Regions from separate parts of the Homo sapiens genome. Here all the other regions are linked to region 1. The links are contacts of gene promoters, found by promoter capture Hi-C in blood cells and fetal thymus (Javierre and others, 2016). All regions are on one chromosome and are shown on one strand. The core of a region is centred on a gene start or on the middle of the fragment in contact, and the rest is flanking DNA. Distances in the headings are between cores, read along the strand shown. Region 1 holds the start of FBXO6 (F-box protein 6). Region 2 holds the start of MASP2 (MBL associated serine protease 2). Region 3 holds the start of MTOR-AS1 (MTOR antisense RNA 1).

Region 1 (4,017 bases), core at 1,032-3,531:
GGAGCCCCAGAAGCTAGATGGGTACCAGGTGGGGTTAGGTTCCCAGAGGACTGAGGGAATCCTGTACAGGATGTCCCAGGGTAGATGGGGAGCAGGATTGGGACCTGCTCTGACAGCTGGACACATGAGCCCTGGATGAGTATGGTAGGGGGTTTGAAGAATCCCCTGTCCACCTCCCAAATCCAGGCCCGGCCCCCTCTGGCTTGGAGAGCATTCCAAGCCCCCACCCCACCCCTAGAACTGCCATTCCCAAGACCTCTGTCTCCCAGCCAACCACCCTTGGAACTTGCCTCTTGTCCTGCTGGAAAGATAGCAGTGTTCTCCTGACTTCGCCCTACTGCATGCAGCCAAATAAAAGGTGTGCCCAGTCTAACCTGTGCCCTGTGGTTTCTGGAAGGAAAGGCAGACTTTAGGTGGTCCTGCCTGGACCTGCAGATGGTACAATGGCATGGCTTCTGTCTAAGGTACAGAGGGGTTGGCATTTCAGGAACCAGGCCATCACAGAAACAGGTTCATGGGCAGACCCCTCAGTGAGCTGCAGGTATCTCACCTGGCAGCCGTCCAGTACTGCTGGCTTCCTCTGGAGGCCCAGCCACAGGCTGGGGTTGGGGTGTGTGGACATCTCTGGGCAGCTCTTGAGTCCACCTTGTGCCAGATCAGCAGTGCCACCCAGGCTCTGCCTCCTGGTGTTACTCTTTGCCAACAGCTTTACGGACATTGGATGAAGCCGAAGCATTTAGAATGGTGCCTGGCACACAGTTGGTGCGTGATATGGTTAAGCTTTGTGTCCCCACCCACATCTCATCTTGAATGGTAATCCTGGGTGTTTAGGGAGAGACCTGGTGGGAAGTGATTGGATTATGGGAGCGGTTTTCCCCCATGCTGTTCTCATGATAGTGAGTGAGTTCTCACGAGATCTGATGGTTTTACAAGTGACGGTTTCCCCGGCTCCCTCCTGCCGCCATGTGAAGAAGGTCGTTGCTTCCCCTTCACCTTCCACCACCATGATTGTAAGTTCCTTTTTTCTTTTCTTTTCTTTTTTTTTTTTTTTTTTTTGAGATGGAGTCTCGCTCTGTCGCCCAGGCTGGAGTGCAGTGGCGCAATCTCAGCTCACTGCAAGCTCTGCCTCCCAGGTTCGCGCCATTCACCTGCCTCAGCCTCTGGAGTAGCTGAGACTACAGGCGCCCACCACCATGCCCGGCTAATTTTGTTTGTATTTTTAGTAGAGATGGAGTTTCACCATGTTGGCCAGGGTGGTCTCAATCTCCTGACCTCGTGATCCACCCACCTCGACCTCCCAAAGTGCTGAGATTACAGGCGTGAGCCACCGCGCCCAGCGATTGTTTCTTGAGGCTTCCCCAGCCATATGGAACTATAAGTCAATTAAACCTCTTTCCTTTTATAAATCACCCAGTCTCGGGTATTTCTTTATAGCAGTGTGAACATGGACTATAATCCAGTGCTCAATAAGTACTCCTCACATTTAGCTATCTCAGTCAAGGGTGAGCTAGATAAGGGCTTTGGCCAGGGCAGGATCACCACCCACCAGCCCATGGCAAACTGCAAAAGGACGGCCTTCCACGGAGAACATGTAGCCCTGACTGCAATTAATGTGTCCTGGGCCAGTCCCCTTGTGCAGTACACAGCCTGCACAACCCTTGGTGGTTGCCTGAACAAGGTGCTTGCTAAATATTTGTTGACTGATGGAAGAAATTCATGAACTTAATCCTGATAAAAAACCTCAGAGGTTTTTTATTTTTTGAGACAAGGTCTGGCTCTGTCGCCCAGGCTGCAGTGCAGTGGTACAGTCTCCACTCACTGCAGCCTCCCAGGTTCAAGCGATTCTCCCACCTCAGCCTCCGGAGGAGCTGGGATTATAGACCTGTGCCACCACGCCCGGCTAATTTTTGTATATTTAGTAGAGACAGGGTTTTTGCCATGTTGGCCAGGCTGGTCTCGAACTCCTGACCTCAAGCGATCCTCCCCACCTCGGCCTCCCAAAGTGCTGGGATCACAGGCGTTAGCCACCTCCTAGCACCTCAGGTTTTTTACCTTTGAGTCTATGAAGCCTGCGGAGGTCACGCCCTAGGGAAAGAAGGAGCCCACTGGGTGTCAGGTCCTGCCTCTAGGGAGGGGACCGCGGGTCAAGGGTGGAGCCCTGGGCCGCATAAGGAAGGAACTAGTGCGGAGGTCCGGGGAGCGGCCGCGCGTTCGGGAGCTTCGGCCCTGCGTAGGAGGCGGGTGCAGGTGTGGGTGCTGAGCCGCCCGCCGCCTGGAGGGGGAGACAGCTTCAGGACACGCAGGCCGCAGCGAGGGCCCGGGCCCTGGGGATCCCAGGTTCGTCTTCCCGCGGCGAGGGTTAGGGGCCGGGCCGAGAGGGACGGCAGCGGGGTCCGGGGCGGGGGTGGGGACCGAGCGCAGCGCGTGACGCGGCGGCGGGGCCCAGCGACAACGAAGCCGAGGCCGTAGGCTCGGGCCGACCTGGAGCTCCGCCGCTGCGCCCAGGTCGCGTCCCCGGGGGGACGGGCGGCGGGCGAGTGGGGAGCCGGGGTCTCCGGCGCCTGGGCGTTCACGGAGCCTGCGGGCGCTGGTCCGGGCGGCCAGGGGTGGGGGGCGCGGGCGGCTGGGCCCGGACTTCGACTGGGGGCCTGGCCCCGGGGCCACCCAGGCGGAGGCTCTGCGGCCGCCTCCACCCCGGCCACATCCCGAGGCCGGCGCCGGGTTCGGAGAACTGTCAAGGGACCTCCAGGCCCCCACACGCCTGCGAGATCCGGCGCTTGCCTTGCCCCAGCCACAGTTTCTGTTTCCGAGAAACCGGTGAAGTAACAATGCCACTAGAGCTTGCTGGGAGGGTGGGTGCGGAGAAGGCGAGCACGAGACGCCGGGCCGGGCAGTTGGGGACCCCGATCGGTGTGAGAGGGCTTCCTAGGGCTGGCATGGACTTCCCCACCACAAAATGCCCAGGGCCGGGGGGGGGAAGGGGCGCAAGAAAATGCGGACTGGGCCAGAGACCAGACTTCGGTCACCACGGTGGGAAGCTATTGGTGCCTAGATGCCTCTAGCTTGGAGCCCAGTGACTTTTATTTCGTCTAGAGTCTAGACAGTGCCTTTAGAAGCTGCCAGCATTTATTTATTTATTTATTTATGGCAGAGTCTTGCTCTGTCACCCAGGCTGGAGTGCAGTGGCATGATCACGGCTCACTGCAGCCTCGACTTCCTGGGCTCAAGCGTTCCTCCTGCCTCAGCCTCCTGCATAGCTGGGACTACAGGCACGGGCCACCAGGCCTAGCTAATTTCTTTTTTTTTTTTTTTTTTTTTTTTTTTGAGACGGAGTGTCGCTCTGTCGCCCAGGCTGGAGTGCAGTGGCGCGATCTCAGCTCACTGCAAGCTCCGCCTCCCGGGTTCAGGCCGTCCTCCTGCCTCAGCCTCCCGAGTAGCTGGGACTACAGGCACCTGCTTCTCGAGTAGCTGGGACTACAGGCACCTGCAACCAAGCCCGGCTAATTTTTTGTATTTTTAGTAGAGATGGAGTTTCACTGTGTTAGCCAGGACGGTCTCGATCTCCTAACCTCGTGATCCGCCCACCTCGGCCTCCCAAAGTGCTGGGATTACAGGCGTGAGCCACCGCGCCCGGCCTTTTTTTTTTTTTTTTTTTTTTTTGAGACAGATTCTCACTCTGTTGCCCAGGCTGGAGTGCAGTGGCACGATCTCGGCTCACTGCAACCTCCGCTTCCCGGGTTCAGGTGATTCTCCTGCCTCACCCTCCCGAGTAGCTGGGACTACAGGCGTCCGCCACCACGCCCAGCTAATTTTTGTATTTTTAGTAGAGACGGGGTTTCGCCATATTGGCCAGGCTGGTCTCGAACTCCTGATCTTGTGATCCGCCCGCCTCGGCCTACCGAAGTGCTGGGAATACAGGCCTGAGTCTGTGCACCCGACCTAATTTCTTTTTTTCTAGAGACAGAGTCTCACTATGTTGCCTAGACTACAAGCATTTTTAATTGACAACTTTTACAT
Region 2 (4,017 bases), core at 578-3,077, 620 kb before region 1:
GCAGGTGCGCTTGTTACGGTGCAGGACGTAGCCTGCGCGGCAGGAGCAGTAGAAACCGCCCAGGTGGTTGTGGCAGTGGTGGTCGCAGGTGGGCGCCTCTCCCGGGGCCACCTGGCACTCGTCAATGTCTGGGGGAGAGGCAGGGCCAGGCAGGCCGTCAGGAGGGAAAGAGGCGGGATCCAGCCTGGACTCCTCCCAGGAGATCCATGACCTCAGAGTGGACCTCAGAGGAGGCCTCGTCCTGTCTAGGGTGCGGGACTGGTGCCGGGCCAATCACCTTACAGGCCTAGGGTCGCTGCAAGCTCCCAGCAGCGCTGGGAGAAAGATGCAAACATCACCTCTGTTAAACCAGTGGGAGTTTCAGTGTCCGGCCCGAGGTCACCCAGCTAATGAGGGGAGTCAATCAAACCCAGGGGGCGGGGCTACAGCGCTGAACCCTTGCAGCAGCTTCCTAAGGAGCAGAGAAATTGAGCCACTTGCCAGAGGTCACACAGTTGGTCTCTGCAGGGACTGGGATCTGAAATCAAACATCCTGGCAGCGCTCCCGCTGGCAGGGCCCCACTTTGTCAGCTGTAAATGGGGCCCTCGGCCCCTGCGTCGTTTTTGTTTTTTGTTTTTTGAGACGGAGTCTAGCTCTGTCGCCCAGGCTGGAGTGTAGTGGTGCAATCTCTGTTCACTGCAGCCTCCACCTCGCAGGTTCAAGCAATTCTCCTGCCTCAGCCTCCCTAGTAGCTGGGATTCCAGGTGCGCACCACCACGCCCAGCTAATTTTTGTAGTTTTAGTGGAGATAGAGTTTCACCGTGTTGCCCTGGCTGGCCTTGAACTCCTGACCTCAAATGATCAGCCAGCCTCGGCCTCCCAAAGTGCTGGAATTACAGGCGTGAGCTGCTGCGCCCGGCCAGTCCCTGCGTCACTTGAGGCGATGCTGTCCTCAGATCCCTGGCTCAGAGTTGGCACTCAGCCCATGTGAATGGAGGTCACGGCTGTTTTGGTCTTTGCATTGTGGATGATGTCAGGCCAGAGGCCTCTCCCCTGCCCTGGGAAAGGTGGGGAAACTGAAGGCAGGGCTGCCTGGCCTAAGACAGAGTTACCCCCACAGCCAGCTGCGCAGACTGAGATGTTGCAGGACCCCTCTTGGCTCACCCTCGGCTGCATAGAAGGCCTCGAACCCCGTGAACGGCTTCTCGTTGGAGTAGTCGGAGCGGAAGGTAATGTCCAGGCTGGAGCCCAGCGAGTAGAAAGTGTCCTTGCCAGGGGCCCGCTCCGTGTCTGTGCTCTCCTGCCCGCACAGCGTGGCCAGCACCTTGGCCCCCGAGCTCAGCTGTGGGGTCAGGTGTCACAGGGAGTGAAGGCAAGACCCAGGCCTGATCTCCCTCCTGGCCAAGCCTGGCCCCTGCTCCCAGGTGTCCCTGAACCCTGGCTACTCCTTGGGGACCCCCCGACCCTGAGAAACCCCAGCCCTCCCGTCCTGACGGCACCTTGACGAAGTCGTACTCGCAGAGGTGGGAGAGCTCCAGGTCGAAGTGGGTGAAGTAGAGGCGCAGGCGGTAGCCGGGGGGTGCAGTCAGGGTCCAGCGCCGCTCCTGGTCATTGGCATACTCCCCTGGAAAGCCGGGGGATGCCAGGCGCCCGAACACAGGTTCAGGCCACTTCGGGCCCAAGGGGGTGGCCACCGAGCCACACAGAAGGCCCAGGAGGGTCAGCAGCCTATGGGCAGGGCAGGGGCGGTGAGGGCCCAGGCCTGTGCTCCCACCCCACACCCTGCAGGGAGGCTGTGGGCGCCCACCTACCTCATGGTGTGCCCGTCCAGCTGGCCTGGCCTGGTCTGCAGCCCTACGCTGGTCTCACCTTTGATCTGTTTGTCCAGTGACCTGCCCCTGCCCCCAGCCTCCCTGACTCTGGGATTCTGGGAATCGACTCCATGACTCCAGCCTGCTCAGAGTTCCAGGCAGGCAGGACAGGCTGCTCTGGGAGCCAGGAGTCGGACCTAGGTAACAACAGCCTGGAAACAAATCCTGGCTCTGCCCCTCACCCCTCCCTTTTTTTTGGATCTTGTTCTGTTGCCCCGGCTTCAGTGCAGTGCTGCAATCATAGCTCACTGCAGCCTCTACTTCCTGTGTTCAAGCAATCCTCCCACCTCAGCCTCCCAAGTAGCTGGGATTACAGGCGAGCACCACCACACCTGGCTAATTTTTTATTTTTGGTAGGGATGGGGTTTCTCCATGTTGGTCAGGCTGGTCTTGAACTCCTGCCCTCAGGTGATCCACCTGCCTTAGCCTCCCAAAGTGCTGGGATTACAGGTGTGAGCCACCGTGCCCAGCCTCAGGCTGGCTAATTTCTTAAACCCTGTCAGAAGGACCTGGTGCCACCAATTCCCGATTCCCTTGCAGGCTTAGAAGTCGCTTTTGGCTGGGCTCGGTGGCTTATACCTGTAATCCCAGCACTTTGGGAGGCCAAGGTGGGTGGATCACGAGGTTGGGAGTTTGAGACCAGCCTGACCAACATGGTGAAATCCCATCTCTACTAAAAATACAAAAATCATCCAGGTGTGGCAGCGCGCACTTATAATCCCAGCTACTCGGGAGGCTGAGGCAGGAGAATTGCTTGAGCCTGGGAGGCGGAGGTTGCAGTGATCCGAGATCGCACCACTGCACTCCAGCCTGGACGACAGAGTGAGACTCCACCTCAAAAAAAAAAAAAAAAAAAAAGAAGTTGCTTTCCAGGCAGTTATTTCACACCTGTTTATCTGTTCTTCCAGCTTCCAGAACTTTGAGGCTGCTGCTTCCTCTTCCACACTCTGTCCTCATGGATTCATGTCTTGTCTTTTTTTTTTTTTTATCCCCTTTATATTTGTTTTTGTTTTTTGTAGAGATGGGGGTCTCCCTGTGTTGCCCAGGCTGGTCTTGAACTCCTGAGCCAAAGCGATGCACCTGCCTCAGCCTCGCAAAGTGCTGGGATTACAGGTGTGAGCCACCAAACCTCTGCCTCCGGGGTTCGAGCAATTCTCCTGCCTCAGCCTCCCGAGTAGCTGGGATTACAGGCATGCGCCACCACGTCCGGCTAGTTTTGTATTTTTAGTAGAGACGGAGTTTCTCCATGTTGGTCAGGCTGGTCTCGAACTCCCAACCACAGGTGATCCACCCGCCTCAGCCTCCCAAAGTGCTGGGATTACAGGCGTGAGCCACCATGCCTGGCCTATTTTCTTTTAGAGACCGGGACTCTGGCTGGGTGTAGTGACTCCTGCCCATAATCCCAGGAGGCTGGGAGGCTGAGGCAGGTGGGTCGCCTGAGACCGGGAGTTCAAGACCAGCTTGGGCAACATAGCAAGACCTTGTCTCTAAAAAAAAAAAAAATTTTTTTAAATTAGCCAGGCATGGTGGCATGCACCTTTAGTCCCAGCTACTTGGCAGGCTGAGATGGGACAATCGCTTGAGCCCAGGAGGTCTCAAGGTTGCAGTGAGCCATGTTCATGCCATTGAACTCCAGCCTGGGTGACAGAGTAAGATTTTGTCTCAAAAAATACATACATAGCAATAATAATAATGCAAGAAAATTTCCCAGAACTGAAGAACGTGATACTGATCGAAAGTGTGCCCCAAGTGCCCAGAAAAGGAGATAAAAATATTAATACAGCTTTACACATATTTAAAAACACTGGAGAGAATAATTATGTTTTACAAACAAAGAGAAAGAGAAAAATCAAATAGTAAATCACATGCAAAAGATCAGGAAAAAGAATTATTTTGGAGTTAAACCTCATCTCTACTAAAAATACAAAACTTAGCTGGGCATGGTGTTGCGTGCCTGTAATCCCAGCTACCTGGAAGGCTGAGGCAGGAGAATCGCTTGAACCTGGAGGCTGCAATGAGCCAAGATTGTGCTACTGCACTCCAGCCTGGGACACAGCGAGACTCCATCTCAAAAAAAAAAAAAAAAAAAAAAAAAAATAGACGGAGTCTCGCTCTGTCCCAGGCTGGAGGGCAGTGGTACGATCTCAGCTCATTGCAGCATCCACC
Region 3 (4,017 bases), core at 390-2,889, 520 kb before region 1:
AATCCCAGAACTTTGGGAGCAGAAGCAGGCAGAACTCCTTTTTTTTTGGAGATGGAGTATCATTCTGTCCCTCAGGCTGGAGTGCAGTGGCGCAATCTTGGCTCACTGCAACCTCTGCCTCCCAGGTCCAAGCGATTCTCCTGCCTCAGCCTCCCAAGGAGCTGGGATTACAGGTGTGCGCCACCACGCCTGGCTAATTTTTGTATTTTTTTCTTTTAGCAGAGAGGGGGTTTCTCTATGTTGGCCAGGCTAAGTCTCAAACTCCTGACCTCAAGCAATCCACCTGCCTCAGCCTCCCAAAGTGCTGGGATTACAGGTGTGAGCCACCATGCCTGGCCAAGTGAACTCCTTTTTCATCCTTGTTGATAAGAAGTCAGACTCAGAAGGGGAGTTCCTGAGATCTACTGCTTCATGGTAAATTCCATGAACCCATGGAGCTGTCCTCCATGGAGATAAACTTAAAAGTCTAGCGACAATGATCTCAGGCTTTTAGCTATGATAAGATGCAGTCTGAGCCTGACTGGAGAACCCAAGGCTAGAAGAGACCCAGCGCCAGTAAGGCTGACCTCTCTAACTGCCCTATGGGAGGGTCTTAGGAACCAAAAGCATTGGTGCAACTCCAAAGAAAAGTAACAAACATGTATTTTTCCACTACTATAATACTGGTTGGGGATTTTAATTTAAATGATTTGACCACAAAATGGCAGTTTTCTAGCCCCAGCAGTTCATTTGACAGCAAGCCATCCACAAGAGCCAAATTTCCACTATAAATGTAATGCTTTACTTTCAGGCCTTGGACCACATTTTTCCATCCCATGAAGTGTGACAACAATGATTTCGAAAGTTAAAATAACAGAAAAAAGTACACTGAGTGATTGTTTTTTGTGACTTCTCACCAATAGTTAGGTTCTCCCAGATGCTGAAATAATTTGGCCTCCTGTAAGCCAAAAAGCATCTTGCTGCCTCAAGATAGGAAAGTCACGAAGGCTTAAGGTGGTGGCAGTGTCCTGGACCCAGTAAAGTCAGACAGGCATCTCTCTTCCCAGGACTCATTCCATGCCTCCCCTCTCCTCTAAGTCTACATTTGGATCAAGTCCCACTTGTCAGACTGTCAGAAGGTTCATCAGATCTCTGCTGTAGAAACTCTTTATTATAGGCATTTCAAAGAATTGGGGTGTGTACAAATCAAGTGGGAAATGCTTATTTGTGGAATTCTTTCTGGTGCCCAGGAGACAATTTTCCATCAAAACATTCACTGGGCATTTCATAATTACTAATAAAACATGTAAAAGAACTGTATGTGCTCATTTCAGAGCCATAAATGACTGTATTCATAGATGTTCCTTTGCCCATTGCTCTTTCCTGTCCAGGGGAATGTGCCCTGAGCTTCCTAGGCAGGAATGTGTTTGGAGTCAAAAGGTTTTGTCGCAGCCTACTGAGACGCCTGGAAGCACAAACTTCGATTGGTCTGAAGCGAGAATTTGGAATTAGCAATTAGGTGGGGATCTAGTTGAGAGGAAATGGTTTATAATTGCGGGGATGGATTATGATAGGTAGGGAGACAAATGGTTTCTGGAGTGGTAAAGGCTTTCTCTCTTTTTTCTTTTGCTGATGAACTTCCTATCCTACCCACTCAAGGAATGGGATAACTGGCCATCCTTCCCAGAACATTTAGACTCCTGACTCCCAGACCTGGAGTGACAGTTTCTCATGTTAAAATGATCAGAATGTGAGAATGAAAACACTGATGGAGGACTTGGGAAAGCTTCTTCTCTACAAGCGGAAACTGCAGTGGAAAAAAAGTCTCAATAGAGGCGACAGGATGACTCTGACCTAAGTAGCTATAAATAGCAGGAGTTGGCCAATGAGAACCTAAGGCAACCCCATCTGAAAAGCTGGTGCAGGTGGCCTCCAAGTGTAGTTAGAGCAGTGGTTCTTAGCTTTGGCTGGTGGAATCATCTGGGGGAACCTGAAAAGATACTGATCCTGAGTCTCTCCCCAGAAATTTAATTGGCCTGGGGAATAGCCTGGGCATCAGGATTTTAAAAAGCTCTGCAGGTGATTCTACTGTGCTGCTAAGGTTGAGAACCACTGATTTTGAGGTTATGATTCCTAACTGACTGGTCACAGGTGTCACTTACTAAAAAACATTTTTTTTAATTCCTAGAGAAGAGAATAAGAAGAGACTGGAAAATTGGTCATTCTCTCACAGCTTAAGTTTAGGTGAGGAGCCTTTGAGTATTCTGCTTTGTATGCAAGCCAAGCAATACACTGGTGGAGGAGGCAGGAAAAGCAAGTTGAGTAAGAGCCAGGGTGGAGGGGGGCACTCACCCAGGTCCTGGAAGGGGTAGGGGTAGGTGGGTGAACTGGGGCTTTCTACCAAGCTCACCTGCAGTCTCTCCCACCAGATCTGGCGGATGATCTCTCGTCGCTCGGGGACAAGTTTGTACTGGATAACCTCCTCCAGCTCGGACAGCATGTGGCAAGAAACCATGGCCTGATGGAAGCAAATCGCATTCCAAACTAATTACTGCACGAACAATCCAAAAGACAGGATTAATTTAAATCATTCCTTCTGGTGTCAGGGTATCTGCCGATCAGAGAAAACAGGCATGTTTCCAGCAGCCTGTAAGTTCTCAATAGCCCATTCTGAAAAAAGTATGGAAATAAGCCTCAAAAATGACAATGTGCAGAATAGTTGACACTTACCCCATATGCCCGACTGTAACTCTCTCCTGCCATCGCAGTTAATTCAGCATCCAGCAGGTCCCTGGCCTTGTCAATGCACTAGAAGAGAAACAACCCTTGGGACTGAGCTCTGGACTTGGGAGCTTAGGGTTATTTTAGGGCACCCCAACTAGCTACAGAAGTTATCTGTCTCACTTAAATTCCAGGGATGAAAAGAGAAATTCGCTGAAGAAGGGCATTTTCCCAGAACTGAATGGCTTGAGAGGAGGTATTATCCAATTTCTCATCGAAGACAGAAATGTATGGCATCCAAAACTTTAACATCTATCTAAGGTAACACACAAAATCTTAGGTGGCAAGGGCATGGGAATGTGGGCTGTAAAACCGAATCATGGGTTCTTGCATCTCAAGAGGACATAACTGGGGATCTACCTTTTTTTTTTCTTCTGAGACACAGTCTCACTCTGTCACCCAGGCTGGAGTGCAGTGGTGTGATCTTGGCTCACTGCAGTCTCCACCTCCCGGGTTCAAGTGATTCTCTTGCCTCAGCCTCCCAAGTAGCTGGGATGCTGGGGTTACAGGCGCCCGCCACCACGCCCAGCTAATTTTTGTATTTTTAGTAGAGATAGGGTTTCTCCATGTTGGTTCAAGCGATTCTCTTGCCTCAGCCTCCCAAGTAGCTGGGATGCTGGGGTTACAGGCGCCCGCCACCACGCCCAGCTAATTTTTGTATTTTTAGTAGAGATAGGGTTTCACCATGTTGGGCAGGCTGGTCTTGAACTCCTGGTCTCAAGTGATCCGTCTGCCTCGGCCTCCCAAAGTGCTGCGATTACAGGTGTGAGCCACTGTGCCCAGCCTGGGGATCTACCCTCTTTTAACTTTTTCTTGCTGGGCATGTTTATGAAAATAGATTCTGCACACACTTCAATGGCTCCAGGTGGTAGCTCTGGCTTCCAAGCACCCTCTGTCCTTATGAGGGAGTGTCTCTAAAATTGGCAGAGATGCCCAATCCTGTCCACATGAACGGGAACTCTTGTGTCTCTGACAGAGACAACCAAGATCTTGGTTCTCATCACACAAATGACAGCCTGGGGGACGCCACAGCACTGCAGTTTGAGTTTCCTCTGTGCCATCAATTAAAAACCCCTCATGCAGAGCTTTTCCCGTTTTTGAATGTTTAAGGTTAATTATAGTGTCCCAATGCCTTAAGTGCTCAGATCATTTACCCGGGCACCTCATCTAAGTCTCGTGTCTGACAGGGTGGATGGGATTACTTCATTATTTCATTCTGCAAGTCAGCATACTATTTGCAAGTAAGTACTAGCTTCC

What was found. Contacts are between HindIII fragments. The CHiCAGO score rates a contact against its expected background, and 5 or more counts as called.
Region 2: a contact is called between the fragment with the promoter of MASP2 here and the fragment with the promoter of FBXO6 in region 1, in 6 of 17 cell types (naive CD8 T cells, fetal thymus, non-activated CD4 T cells and 3 more). The highest score is 6.3, in naive CD8 T cells.
Region 3: the fragment with the promoter of MTOR-AS1 here is called in contact with the fragment with the promoter of FBXO6 in region 1 in 10 of 17 cell types (naive B cells, endothelial precursors, total B cells and 7 more); the score reaches 10.2 in naive B cells.

What each region holds. Positions count from the first base shown.
Region 1 is chr1:11,661,919-11,665,935 of GRCh38, forward strand. It overlaps FBXO6 (F-box protein 6), which reads left to right and starts at 2,282. Exons shown (of 6, transcript NM_018438.6): 1 at 2,282-2,337. FBXO44 (F-box protein 44) reads left to right here. Exons shown (of 6, transcript NM_033182.7): 6 at 1-1,409. RefSeq lists silencers at 2,348-2,567, 2,618-2,687 and an enhancer at 2,808-2,857. The HindIII fragment of the contact is 5,022 bases long and covers 779-4,017 here.
Region 2 is chr1:11,045,412-11,049,428 of GRCh38, forward strand. MASP2 (MBL associated serine protease 2) reads right to left here and starts at 1,828. Exons shown (of 11, transcript NM_006610.4): 1 at 1,792-1,828; 2 at 1,480-1,708; 3 at 1,145-1,322; 4 at 1-128. The coding sequence starts at 1,796. RefSeq lists an enhancer at 333-1,165. The HindIII fragment of the contact is 27,395 bases long and covers 1-4,017 here.
Region 3 is chr1:11,142,259-11,146,275 of GRCh38, forward strand. It overlaps MTOR-AS1 (MTOR antisense RNA 1), which reads left to right and starts at 1,640. Exons shown (of 4, transcript NR_046600.1): 1 at 1,640-1,729; 2 at 2,409-2,628; 3 at 2,895-3,021. It overlaps MTOR (mechanistic target of rapamycin kinase), which reads right to left. Exons shown (of 58, transcript NM_004958.4): 33 at 2,710-2,787; 34 at 2,390-2,497. The HindIII fragment of the contact is 11,786 bases long and covers 1-1,763 here.